3 separate regions of the Homo sapiens genome follow, and regions 2 and 3 are each linked to region 1. Evidence: promoter capture Hi-C in human tissues and cell types (Jung and others, 2019). All regions are on one chromosome and are shown on one strand. Each heading gives the region's core, a stretch centred on a gene start or on the middle of the fragment in contact. The rest is flanking DNA. Distances are from core to core; before and after follow the strand shown. Region 1 holds the start of FAM133B (family with sequence similarity 133 member B). Region 2 overlaps CDK6 (cyclin dependent kinase 6). Region 3 overlaps CDK6 (cyclin dependent kinase 6).

Region 1 (3,529 bases), core at 277-2,776:
TGTCAAATGCCTAGAATATTTAAAACATGAAAAATAAGCCAGGAAAGAAAGAATAACTTAATATTAATAGGTTCTCCTCTTCCTCTTGTGTATAAAAAGAAGCCTGTCTTCAGTCAGAGTCCCCAGCTTAAGTCGGGGGTAATGGAGGAGGAGGAGAAATGAGAGACTGGAGGCCTCATTTTGGAAAGTGGGTTACTGAGGAAGAATCAACACTTAGTAGGGAGCAGAACCACCAAGGACTGCATGTGAGAGTTTGGAAAAGTTTTGAGACAGAAGATGGTAGTTGGGAGCATCTGTCATATAGTGTAGCATGAAAAATGCAGGGAGGGAGGGAGGCAGAGATCGGGAAAGATGATTTTAAAGCATGTTCTTGTATGTAATTAGTGTAATTCCCATTTTGCCATTTCCAAGAGTCCGGAGAAGATCCTAATTGATTTTCAACTACTTCCTAATGATACTTGCTAAGATGAACCCAGAGGGGTCGCTTTATCTATAAATACTTACTAAATATGATTATCTTCTCTGGAGCCCAGATCATCTTCCTTAAAGTTGCAGTGCAGTAGTGCCAATATTACGATATGCTATGCAGTAAAGTTGGCCCTGTGTGTGTTTATTGCCCTTACGAGTTTATAAACAGGCTCCTTGACGATAGGGATTTTTCTTAATCATCTTTGTGCCCTACCCAGCTCCAGCTTCCAGCCACCCAGTTAGTGAAAACTGTACAAACTACATGTTCAAAAATTAGTGTGAAATGAATGCACAGGTGATGAATGAATGGGATTGAAATTAAAGGGTGATTTCGTTAGCAGCGTCTATGACAGCACTGCCTTTCCCCCCACCAGCTGATGGGCTCCGTGAGGGACCAAGGCTCTTTGGTCCTCACTTTGTCCCCAGCACTTGCACTCTGTCAAGCACAAAATAAGCATCGGGAGAATCTTTGTGTCCCCTCGAATGAGTATTTCAGTGTATCAAGAATGGAAGAAAGGCCAAGCGCAGTGGCTCATGCCTGTAATCCCAGCACTTTGGGTCGAGGCGGGCGGATCACTTGAGGTCAGGAGTTATAGACCAGCCTGGCCAACGTGGTAAAACCCTGTCTCTACTAAAAATACAAAAAATTTAGCCCGGCGTGTTGACGGCCGCCTGTAATCTCAGCTACTCGGGATGCTGAGGCAGGAAAATCGCTTGAACCCGGGAGGTGGAGGCTGCAGTGAGCCTAGATCGTGCCACTGCACTCCAGCCTGGGCGACGGAGCGAGAGTCTGTCTAAAAAAAAAAAAAAAAAAAAAAAAAAAAAAAAGAATGGAAGAAAGCAAAACAATCCAAGGCCAAACTGAAGCGAGCTGCCTTGGTGGGGCTCCGGTGCAGAAGCGCAGCGTCGCCTGCTCTTGGGTGCCTAATGAACGACCGGACTCCTGCAGGCGCTCCGCCAACTGCAGCGATCTCTGGAGCCGGCCTGTCCTCCACAGAGATAGGGGGCGCTGTAGCAGAGCGCGGCCGTCGAGTCCGCGTGGTGCCGCTCTCTAGGCGGAGTGGGGAGGCGGCAAGAGGACCTGCGGCAGGCCCTCTTCGGCAGTCTCTCCGGCCCGGTTTCCCTCGGCGTGCTACTGTGCGCTCGATCCAGCACCATGGGGAAGCGGGACAATCGGGTGGTGAGTACTCAGCCGGGAAAACAGTGGGGCGACGCAGGGCCCGGCGGCAGGACAGCGAGAACCCTCGCTGTTCCCGGCCGGGCCGGAGGGCAAGCGGCAGCCCTCAGACGTGGGGCCTGGAGACCCAGCACCCTCCGCCGATCCCAGATGCGCGTGCGCCGCGCACGCAGTTGGCGCTTTAGGGTTCCCAGCTCTCTCTTGCCCGCCCCTTTTTTCTTCCCTCACCTCGTCGCTCTTTCTGGCGCTGCTGGTTTGCACTCTTGCCTGCTGTACGCGGGCCCCCAGTGCCCACTTAGAACCGCGAGGGCTCGGGGAACCCCCCCCACACCTGGCCCCGCCATGTAACTCCGAAGACTTAGGCCCTTGGACGCATCCGACTCACCCGCCCCTTGGTATCGGCCGCCCCAGGTCCGCACCCCTCTCCTGCGCACCCAAGTGGGAGGGAGGCACAGAGGCCTCGACGCGGTCCCTGTGCCGGAGAGCCAGCAGCGCGCCTGGTTTTAGCGACAAGCAGGCTCCCGTTTGAAAATGGGATGGCAGCATTTGCTTTCGTGTCTCCAGCGCCCTGTAGGACCTGGCCCCCATAGACACTGTGAGGGAATGAATGGCGTGAAAATAGTTGGCTTTCGAGTCCAACACAAAACTGGAATGTCAGTTTTGTTCCGTCGGAAGTTGGGTGACCTAGAACAAGTTACTTTTCTTCTCTGTGCCGTCGTTTATAAAAGGGGATCATTATTATCTACAACCTTACAGATTAATTGAAATCACAAAAGGCAAGATGTGTGAGCGAGTACTGGGCATGAAAATTATTACTCTAGTGAATGAGATAAAAGAGATGCATAAATAACTTACAGCAGAAAGAGTAGGAAATGGTCCTTGATAGTTGTTAGAGATTCTAAAGGCATTCAAAAGAAAAGGTGCTTTTGAGAAGCGGAGATGGGAGGAAAGTATTCTAGACCGCTGGGGCGGGGAGGGGGCTGAAAAACTCAGGTTATGAATCAGATTGAATGAGTAGTAAACATAATGAAATAACAATAAGCTTAGGTTGCAGCCTGACAATTTCTGGGCTTGCCTGTGACAAAGTTTTAGCCACTGAGTAGCAAAATGAGGAAAATGCACGTAAAACGAATGTGCTACGTTTCTTGAACTCGCTTTTTTATTCAACAATTATTTGCAAGCTGTGTGTGTCTCACACCAAAGGAGACTTAACATTTACGAAATGATGACACTTGCCATCTGTAGTAGCCAGTTCTTGCATGGCTTTTATAAAGAAAAACCTGAGGCTGGGTAATTTATAAAGAAAAGTGTTTAATTGGCTCACGGTTCTATGGGCTGTACAGGAAGCTTAGCGGCATCTGCTTCTGGGGAGGCCTCAGGGAGCTGTTACTCATGGTGGAAGGCAAAGCAGGAGCAGGCGTCTTACATGGCAGGAGCGGGACCAAGAGAGGGACGGGGAGAGTTGCTACACAGTTTTAAACAACCGCATCTGTTGAGAAATCATCTCTATGCAGTGCTGGGGAGAGGAGGATGCTAAGCCATTCATGAGAACTCCGCCCCCATGATCCAGTCACCTCCCACCAGGCCCCACCTCCAACATTGGGGATTACAATTCGACATGAGATTTGGGCGGGGACACAGATCCAAACCATTTCACCATCTTAAAAACTTTGTAGTTCTGTATAGTCTTTATAATGGAAAATGTCTAGGAACCACTGTGGTAGTGAATCTTGATTACAAGATAGCGGGTTGTTCTTTCTCCTGGCTGTAGGTGAGACTTTGTTGTGCTATCTTGATTGTCATGGCGTTGAAATTATGTAGCATAACACCATTTCAGCATAGGAGCATCCTTAGGTGTTTGAGTATTTTGGGCTCTTCTAATAC
Region 2 (3,529 bases), core at 328-2,827, 200 kb before region 1:
ATTTATGAAGTGATATTGATAGTAGATAGTAGAGTATATTAATGTCTTTAGTTGGCAATGTTCTGTCAGAGCTGTAAAGTTGTTGGAAAGTTTCCAGGCCTCTGAAAACCAAAGATCTGGGAACACTGCTGTATCTCATGAGGGTGGCACCAAGTCCCCAAAGTCAAAAGCATGTGAGTCATCCTTGGCTTCTCCTTCCCCATCCCTCCACCCCCGCCACATTTAGACACTTAGCAAGTCCTGCCAACTCAACCTCCTAAATATTTCTGGAATCTGTACTCTCCTCTCCATCCTTGCTGCCAATTCCTTAGAACAGGCCTTCTTTACTTTCCCTGTACTACTGCAGCAACAGTCTCCTTACAGGTGGTCTTACCACACTTCCCCTTACCCATGTCATCAGATTGGGCTCTTTGAAAACCATAAAAAATAGTTGCCCACTTTCCAGAGGAACAAAGTTCTTTGTAGCATACAAAGTTTCTCTCCAATGGGGCTTCTTGCGGTGCTCCTGCTCACACTTTCTTTGGTTTCAAGTGCCCTTTCTTTGCCACTTGCTTGGGTAACTCTTGATACTCTGACAGTTAAATTGTCATTTCTTCTACAAAGTTTTCCTCCACATATGGATGGGTTGCTTCTTTTATCATTTCTTAAAATTCCATAGGTATATACATAAGAGACAGAAAGATGTATGTGTATGTGTGTGTGCGGATTTGAATAAGTATATGTGTATACACTTATGTGTATCTGTGTATACCGCAGACATACATACCTCAGCATTTACAGAATAGTTGATACTTTGTCTACTTTTCCCACTAGACTCTGAATAACTTAAGAAATTTTATTTTACCCTTTGATTTTTCTATACCTAGCATCTAATCTAATGCTTAGAAAATAACAAATATTTAATAAACGTTTGCTGGTTAAATGCATTTGTTCAATGCTATCGATCAGATTTTTACTGTGGAAGGCTCACTGACCAGAGTAGGGGATGAGTACAAAGAGTCTCAGGGCATTTGGGAAACAGGATAAAGGCCCTTTGTAGAAAACTGGCCAAGGGTGTTGAGTGCCTGAGCTCAGGGAAGTGGCAGTGGATGGAAAAATATTTAGGTGGTGGAATTGGTGGTTGATTGAACATGTGGGGAAATGAAACAATCTACGATTATTTGAAGGCTTCTGGGTTTAGAAAATTATTTGGATGGGGGTGTGATTCACCAAGGGGAATGAACTGTGTTCTAGACATTTTGAAATTGAGATGTTCAGAGTATTGGTTGAAGTTGTCCAAGAGATAACTGGGTATGGAGTTTGGAGAAAGTACTATTTTGGAGAGAGAAGTTGGAGATTTACCAACCTCTAGGTACTCTTTGAAGCTGTGACCATAAAGGAGATAACTGTCATCTGTTGCTGATTAGATTGTCATAGTGGTGGTGGTACATTGGGGAAGAAGAGAATAGGTCCAGGAGATCTTGATATTGAAGGTCCAGATCAAGAAGGAGAGAGGCCTGTGAAGGTTTCTAATTTAAATCTTGGTTCTGCCTCTTGTCTCTGTTCTATGATGCTTGAACAAATTATTCTATGAATCTTAGCTTCTTCATCTGTAAAATGAGAGTAATAGTATATACTTTATAAGGATATTGAAAGGATTCAATAAGTTTCCATATATTAAATCCCTGCCACAGTCCCAGGCTCACTGTAGGGGCTCTTAAGTGGTAAATTCAAGAAAATGTTCCTCAAGATATGAGCAGTTTCAAAACAAAGAATTTTTTAATGGTTACCCCAGAGATTACAATTAACATCTTCAACTTATAACAATCCAGTTTGAGTTGATACTATTTCAGCTTTAATAGTATATAAAACTTTTTTCTGTACAGTTCTGTCCTTTCTCCTTCATGTTGTTATTGTCACAAATTACATGTTCATACGTTGTGTGGCCATTAACGTAGACTTATAATTACTGTCCTATGCATTTGTTTTTTAAATCATATTTTAAAAGTTACAAACCACTTACCTATGTAGTTAGTTACCTTTGCCAGTGTTCTTTGTTTCTTCATATGGCTCCATGTTACTGTCTAATGTTCTTTTATTTCAGCCTGAAGGACTCCCTTTAGCATTTCCTGTAGGGCAGATCTATTGGCAAAAAACTCCCTCAGCTTTTGTTTATCTGAGAATGTCTTAATTTTGCCTTCATCTTTGAAGGATGGTTCTGCCAGATATAGAATTCTTGGTTAACAGATTTCTTTTTTCTTCCAGCACTTCTTTATTTATTTATTAGAAACAGAGTGTCACTCTTACATCCAGGCTAGAGTGCAGTGGTGCAGTCATAGTTCACTGTAGCCTCAAACTTCTGGGCTCAAATGATCTTTCTGTCTCAGCCTCCTGAGTAGCTAGGACTACAAGCATGTGCCACCACGACCAGTTAATTTAAAAAAAAAAAATCTTTTGTAGAGATGAGGGGGTTCTTTGTGTTACCCAGGCAGGTCTCAAACTCCTAGATTCAAGTGGTCCTCTTGCCTAGGCCTCCCAAAGTGTTGAGATTACATGCATGAGCCACCATGCCTGGCTGCTTCCAGCACTTCCAAATTGCCATCCCACTGCCTTCTGCCCTCCATAGTTTCTGATGAGAAGTAGTTGTTCATCTTATTGCAGATCCCTTGTGTGTGATGAGTTGCTTCTCTCTTGCTGCTTTCAAGATTCTCTCTTTGTCTTTGGTTTTCATAGTTTAATTACAATGTGCCTCATTGTGGATCTTTTGGTCTCATCTGCATGTACTTAGTAAACACTCAAATAAGTGATCATAATAATGGTGCAGAATTAAATGATTATAATTTAATGGTAACAGTAATGACCATGAATCATCTACCAGTTAAACATAATATTGTGCTTAAAAAGTCAAGAAAATGTTCAATGCATGTTACCAAGAATTCCACTAAAACTTTAATTTTAAAAAATAGTTTAGGGAATTAAGATGGGTAAGAATCAATTATCTAAAATATTCACTTACATGGGACAACCAGATGACTAACAGATTATTAGTATATGAGGTGTTCCTGTGGTTCTTTGCAAAAGAAAACGTCTGCCTTGAAATAGATAAACTTGCAGTTACATTTACAAATTATCTCCCACAGTTTTCATTACCGTTAACACCATGAAACATTTTCCTTATTATCTGAGATACTTCTAGAACAAAGATCAAACTCTAAAATAAAATGGACTTATAGAAATATAGCAAATCATAATTTAATTTTTATAAGTGTTTGCACCTGAACAAAACAACCCAATTTTAGATCCTTAAGTTTAGAAGTTGGTAGAAATACCAGTTTTTCCAGCTTCTCCAACTGCAGTGTGTTTTCTAATATTTTAATATAGTTTGCCATTGGTGATCTTAGAATATATTTCTAGCATTTTTCTTAGTTCTCAACACAATAATTCCCAGAAATTTTGCTCTAATAGATCTAATTTAAAAATATAAGATGTTATATTTTAATTTTTATAAGGATCTTTATTTTTGACCAAGCTTTATTTTGGTTGCTTGCAC
Region 3 (3,529 bases), core at 761-3,260, 130 kb before region 1:
TTGCAGTGTTCTTGAAAGTGTGGGAGTGGAAAGGCAGGAAGGGAGACAATTCACTCATTCAGCCAATACCTGTCAAATGCCTGCCGCATGCCAAGCAGCCACAAAATGCTAAGGATTCGGCGTCCAGCATAGCAAATGCTCAACTTCCGTTTTGAGTGTTTACTGATTTTCTTTTTTTAATTTTATTAGGATATGATGTTTCAGCTTCTCCGAGGTCTGGACTTTCTTCATTCACACCGAGTAGTGCATCGCGATCTAAAACCACAGAACATTCTGGTGACCAGCAGCGGACAAATAAAACTCGCTGACTTCGGCCTTGCCCGCATCTATAGTTTCCAGATGGCTCTAACCTCAGTGGTGAGTGAGAGAGTGCTGTCCTTTTATTAAACTTATTTTTCCTATTTTGAATGACAGTCTGTCCCTCTTCCATGTCTCTAATGTTAGTACTGCCCATGACTAGTTGGTGGATAGAATGTCTTTGCCCATTTTTATATGGCAGTGGGTAGGCAGAAAGCATTCTGCTTACAGCTACAGTCACATCCAGCCTGGGCTTGTTGTGGACAGGATCCATTGCAGAAATAGCCTGTTGCATCTTAGCCACTGGACAGGAATCAGTTACAAGTTTCCAAATGCTTTCTGCCATAACCACTGTTTTCAGAGCTGTATGTACAATGCCTAGGGAACACACAGCTCAAGGTCAGGGAAGAAAGAGCACGAGCAACGTTGACCTGTCTGCAGCATCATGGTTTTGAGAAACAGAGTGCCTACACAGGTTTGTTAATGCACTCATCTGAAGCTATGGTGCCAGCTGTAAAGAAGAAATCAAATTCACAGTGAACTTGGATGATGCATGAACGTAGAGCACCGCCATGCCAGGTGAAGGCTCATATAACCCTGAATAGAAAGAGCGAACCCAACGGCCCTGTTTTGGCAAAAAATAACAGTTATGATACCCTGTTTCTTTTTGCCATTCAGCTGCAAAACCATAATAGCTATTGACATTGGTTAGCTTCTATTTCTCCATATAGTTCATTATTTCTCAGATGGATTTTTGTGAAATTCTGCACCCCAAATACAAAAAGAGCAGCCTGGAAATAGGTATTAATACCCTTCTCTTTGAAAGACCTGTTTTGCATACAGTAAATTCATGCCTTACGTACAGTAAATTAAATAAATAATATATAGCAAATTAAGTCTTAAGAAAAAGAATTTTAAAAAAGAAAATATCTTTGTATATTCAAAGAAATAAAAAAAAATAATCCGTATTGTCCATCTTTAGCCTCAAAGTGGTTCTCACATCAGGGACAGCATGGCCCTGTTGTTAAGTAATGATTGGCAACATCTTTGGTCATTCTGCACAGCAAAAAATTGTTTCCCTAAATTTCAGTAATACTACAGCTGATAAGTAGAAATTCAAGAGAGGAGTTAGAAATTCTCTGAGACAGATAACTTGCCTTAGGAAAAAATCCAATTTATAAAAGTGTTCCCCACCCCCTGCCCCCAGTCAAAATAGGGGTGCTACCACCTAGACACGTAAGACCAGTTACTTTCCAAACATTATAGACTTTTCCTAGGGCATCAGAACTTTTGATGCAGAGGATTCCTTGGAAAATGTTGCCATTGTTAGAAGATAAATCCTACTCATTTCCTCTTTGCCCAGCATACACCATTGCTTTAGAGGAGAAATGGCACGAGTTGATGTTTAAAAGATAGGCCTCAGCTTTGAGCACGGTCAAGCAAGCCCTTGTATTCTTATGTAATCACACCAGAAAGGGCTGAGTCTGTGTATTTCCCCAGTGGGAAGGGTGAGGTAGGCTTTGAGTTTCCCTAGGAAGTTGTTGCGCATGTTGTTTTGGGGCCCTGGGGAGAAGCTTGAATAGGCTTTGTGATCCAGAGAGTCATCAGGGGAGTAGATGGAAGGAACTTGTCTCCTTGGGTACGTTAATTGAAGGAAGGATAAGCTGTAACTGAGATGGACGCTTTTATTTTAATCCCCCCAAATGGGCACTAATAACCATAAATAAAAACAGGAAACCCAGTTGGTTTGTGTTTGATTTTTTTTTTTTTTTTTTGCTTATTAAATTTGAGCTTGTGCGTAACATCAATTAACATTCCATTCTTGCTGAAAGTTGATATGTTCAAACAGGAAAATGTAGACAAATTATTTCATAGAGGAAAAGGAGAAAGGCAGTCATAAATACACAATTTTTCAGTATCTAGTTTATACTGCATGCTTTATATTTCCTATAGTGACATAAGTAAAACATGTTAGCAGCTGAGAAGGATTCTAAAACAAAAATCAGACTTTATTGGAAAGAGTGACGGTTGGAATTTAATGGTAATAATAAAGGGTATGTTCCTACAGGGTACTGCATTTTAAAATTTCCCCACTCTTTTGTATTTTTCTATTTAAAGGAAATACCCATTTAATATAGTAATGCGTCGATTTATATACACATGGTGACATAAAAACTTGGAATCATAGTTTTTTAGACTGAACTGGTATGTATTTTTAGTGTCTCTTGAAGAGAAAAAGACTACACTCCTCTTCCTGGAAATACACATTTTTTAGTGGGTTATGTCATACAGGAACTGAGAATCAACTTAATTTGTGGAATGTTAAAGGAATTACAAGTTAACTGATTCAAAACTGACATCTTAAAACTATGAGAAATGCTAGTATTTTACTTACCTTGCAAAGCCTGACTCCAGAGGTACCCTTTCTAGTATCCCCTTCAGAAATTAATTTCTTTTTCCTCTCTGTTTCCAGAGTAATATTTTGGGTTTTTTTGTTTGTTTTTGTTTTTGAGACAGAGTTTCACTCTGTTGCCCAGGCTGGAGGGCAGTGGCCCTATCTCAGCTCACTGCAACCTCTGCCCTCCGAGTTCAAGCGATTCTCGTGTCTCAGCCTCCCAAGTAGCTGGGATTACAGGCCACCCCAGGCTAATTTTTGTATTTTTAGTAGAGGCAGGGTTTTGCCATGTTGGCCAGGCTGGTTTTGAACTCCTGACCTCAAGTAATCCGTCCTCCTCAGCCTCCCAAAGTGCTGGGATTACAGGCATAAGCCACTGTGCCCAGCCTATAATACTGTTTTCTGTCTTGTTTTTAGTTATTTGGGAATTTTATTTATCAGGCCATAAGTTCCTCGAAGGCAGATGCTCATCTTATTCAGCCCTAACACACAGTGCCTTGTTTATTTTGATAGGCACTCAGGAAATATTTTTCAGTGAATAAATTGACAAATGCTGACTTGCAGATATAAGCAGTTGAGTCATAACAGGAATAGAGAAGGAGCTATGTTATACATTTAATGGTCTCATTTGATGTGTGTCAATATTCCTCATAGCTACCTGGTAATATTAAGCTGAAGGACTTACTCCATATACCTTAAAATGGCTGAGTCCATTTTGCACCCTAGTCCTGATTGATTTATTGGCAGCACATATCTGTGTTCAAAATCATGAAAGCTATTAATACATGCTGTAGCTCAATCTCAAGTTAGGAGTGAAAAGTTGACGCAAACCCAAGT

What was found. Contacts are between HindIII fragments. The study calls those that stand out against the background at their distance.
Region 2: a contact is called between a fragment that was not itself captured here and the fragment with the promoter of FAM133B in region 1, in 5 of the 25 tissues and cell types used here (IMR-90 fibroblasts, aorta, hippocampus and 2 more).
Region 3: a contact is called between a fragment that was not itself captured here and the fragment with the promoter of FAM133B in region 1, in 3 of the 25 tissues and cell types used here (bladder, hippocampus and lymphoblastoid cells).

The regions. Positions count from the first base shown.
Region 1 is chr7:92,588,387-92,591,915 of GRCh38, reverse strand. FAM133B (family with sequence similarity 133 member B) reads left to right here and starts at 1,526. Exons shown (of 11, transcript NM_152789.4): 1 at 1,526-1,648. The coding sequence starts at 1,625. RefSeq lists enhancers at 1,369-1,648, 1,739-1,798. The HindIII fragment of the contact is 9,030 bases long and covers 1-2,840 here.
Region 2 is chr7:92,787,862-92,791,390 of GRCh38, reverse strand. All of the region lies in intron 2 of CDK6 (cyclin dependent kinase 6), which reads left to right. Among named protein-coding and RNA genes, the nearest start is that of CDK6-AS1, 47 kb to the left of the region's middle. The HindIII fragment of the contact is 9,279 bases long and covers 1-3,529 here.
Region 3 is chr7:92,722,454-92,725,982 of GRCh38, reverse strand. It overlaps CDK6 (cyclin dependent kinase 6), which reads left to right. Exons shown (of 8, transcript NM_001145306.2): 4 at 190-357. Among named protein-coding and RNA genes, the nearest start is that of CDK6-AS1, 110 kb to the left of the region's middle. RefSeq lists an enhancer at 1,548-2,104. The HindIII fragment of the contact is 3,912 bases long and covers 55-3,529 here.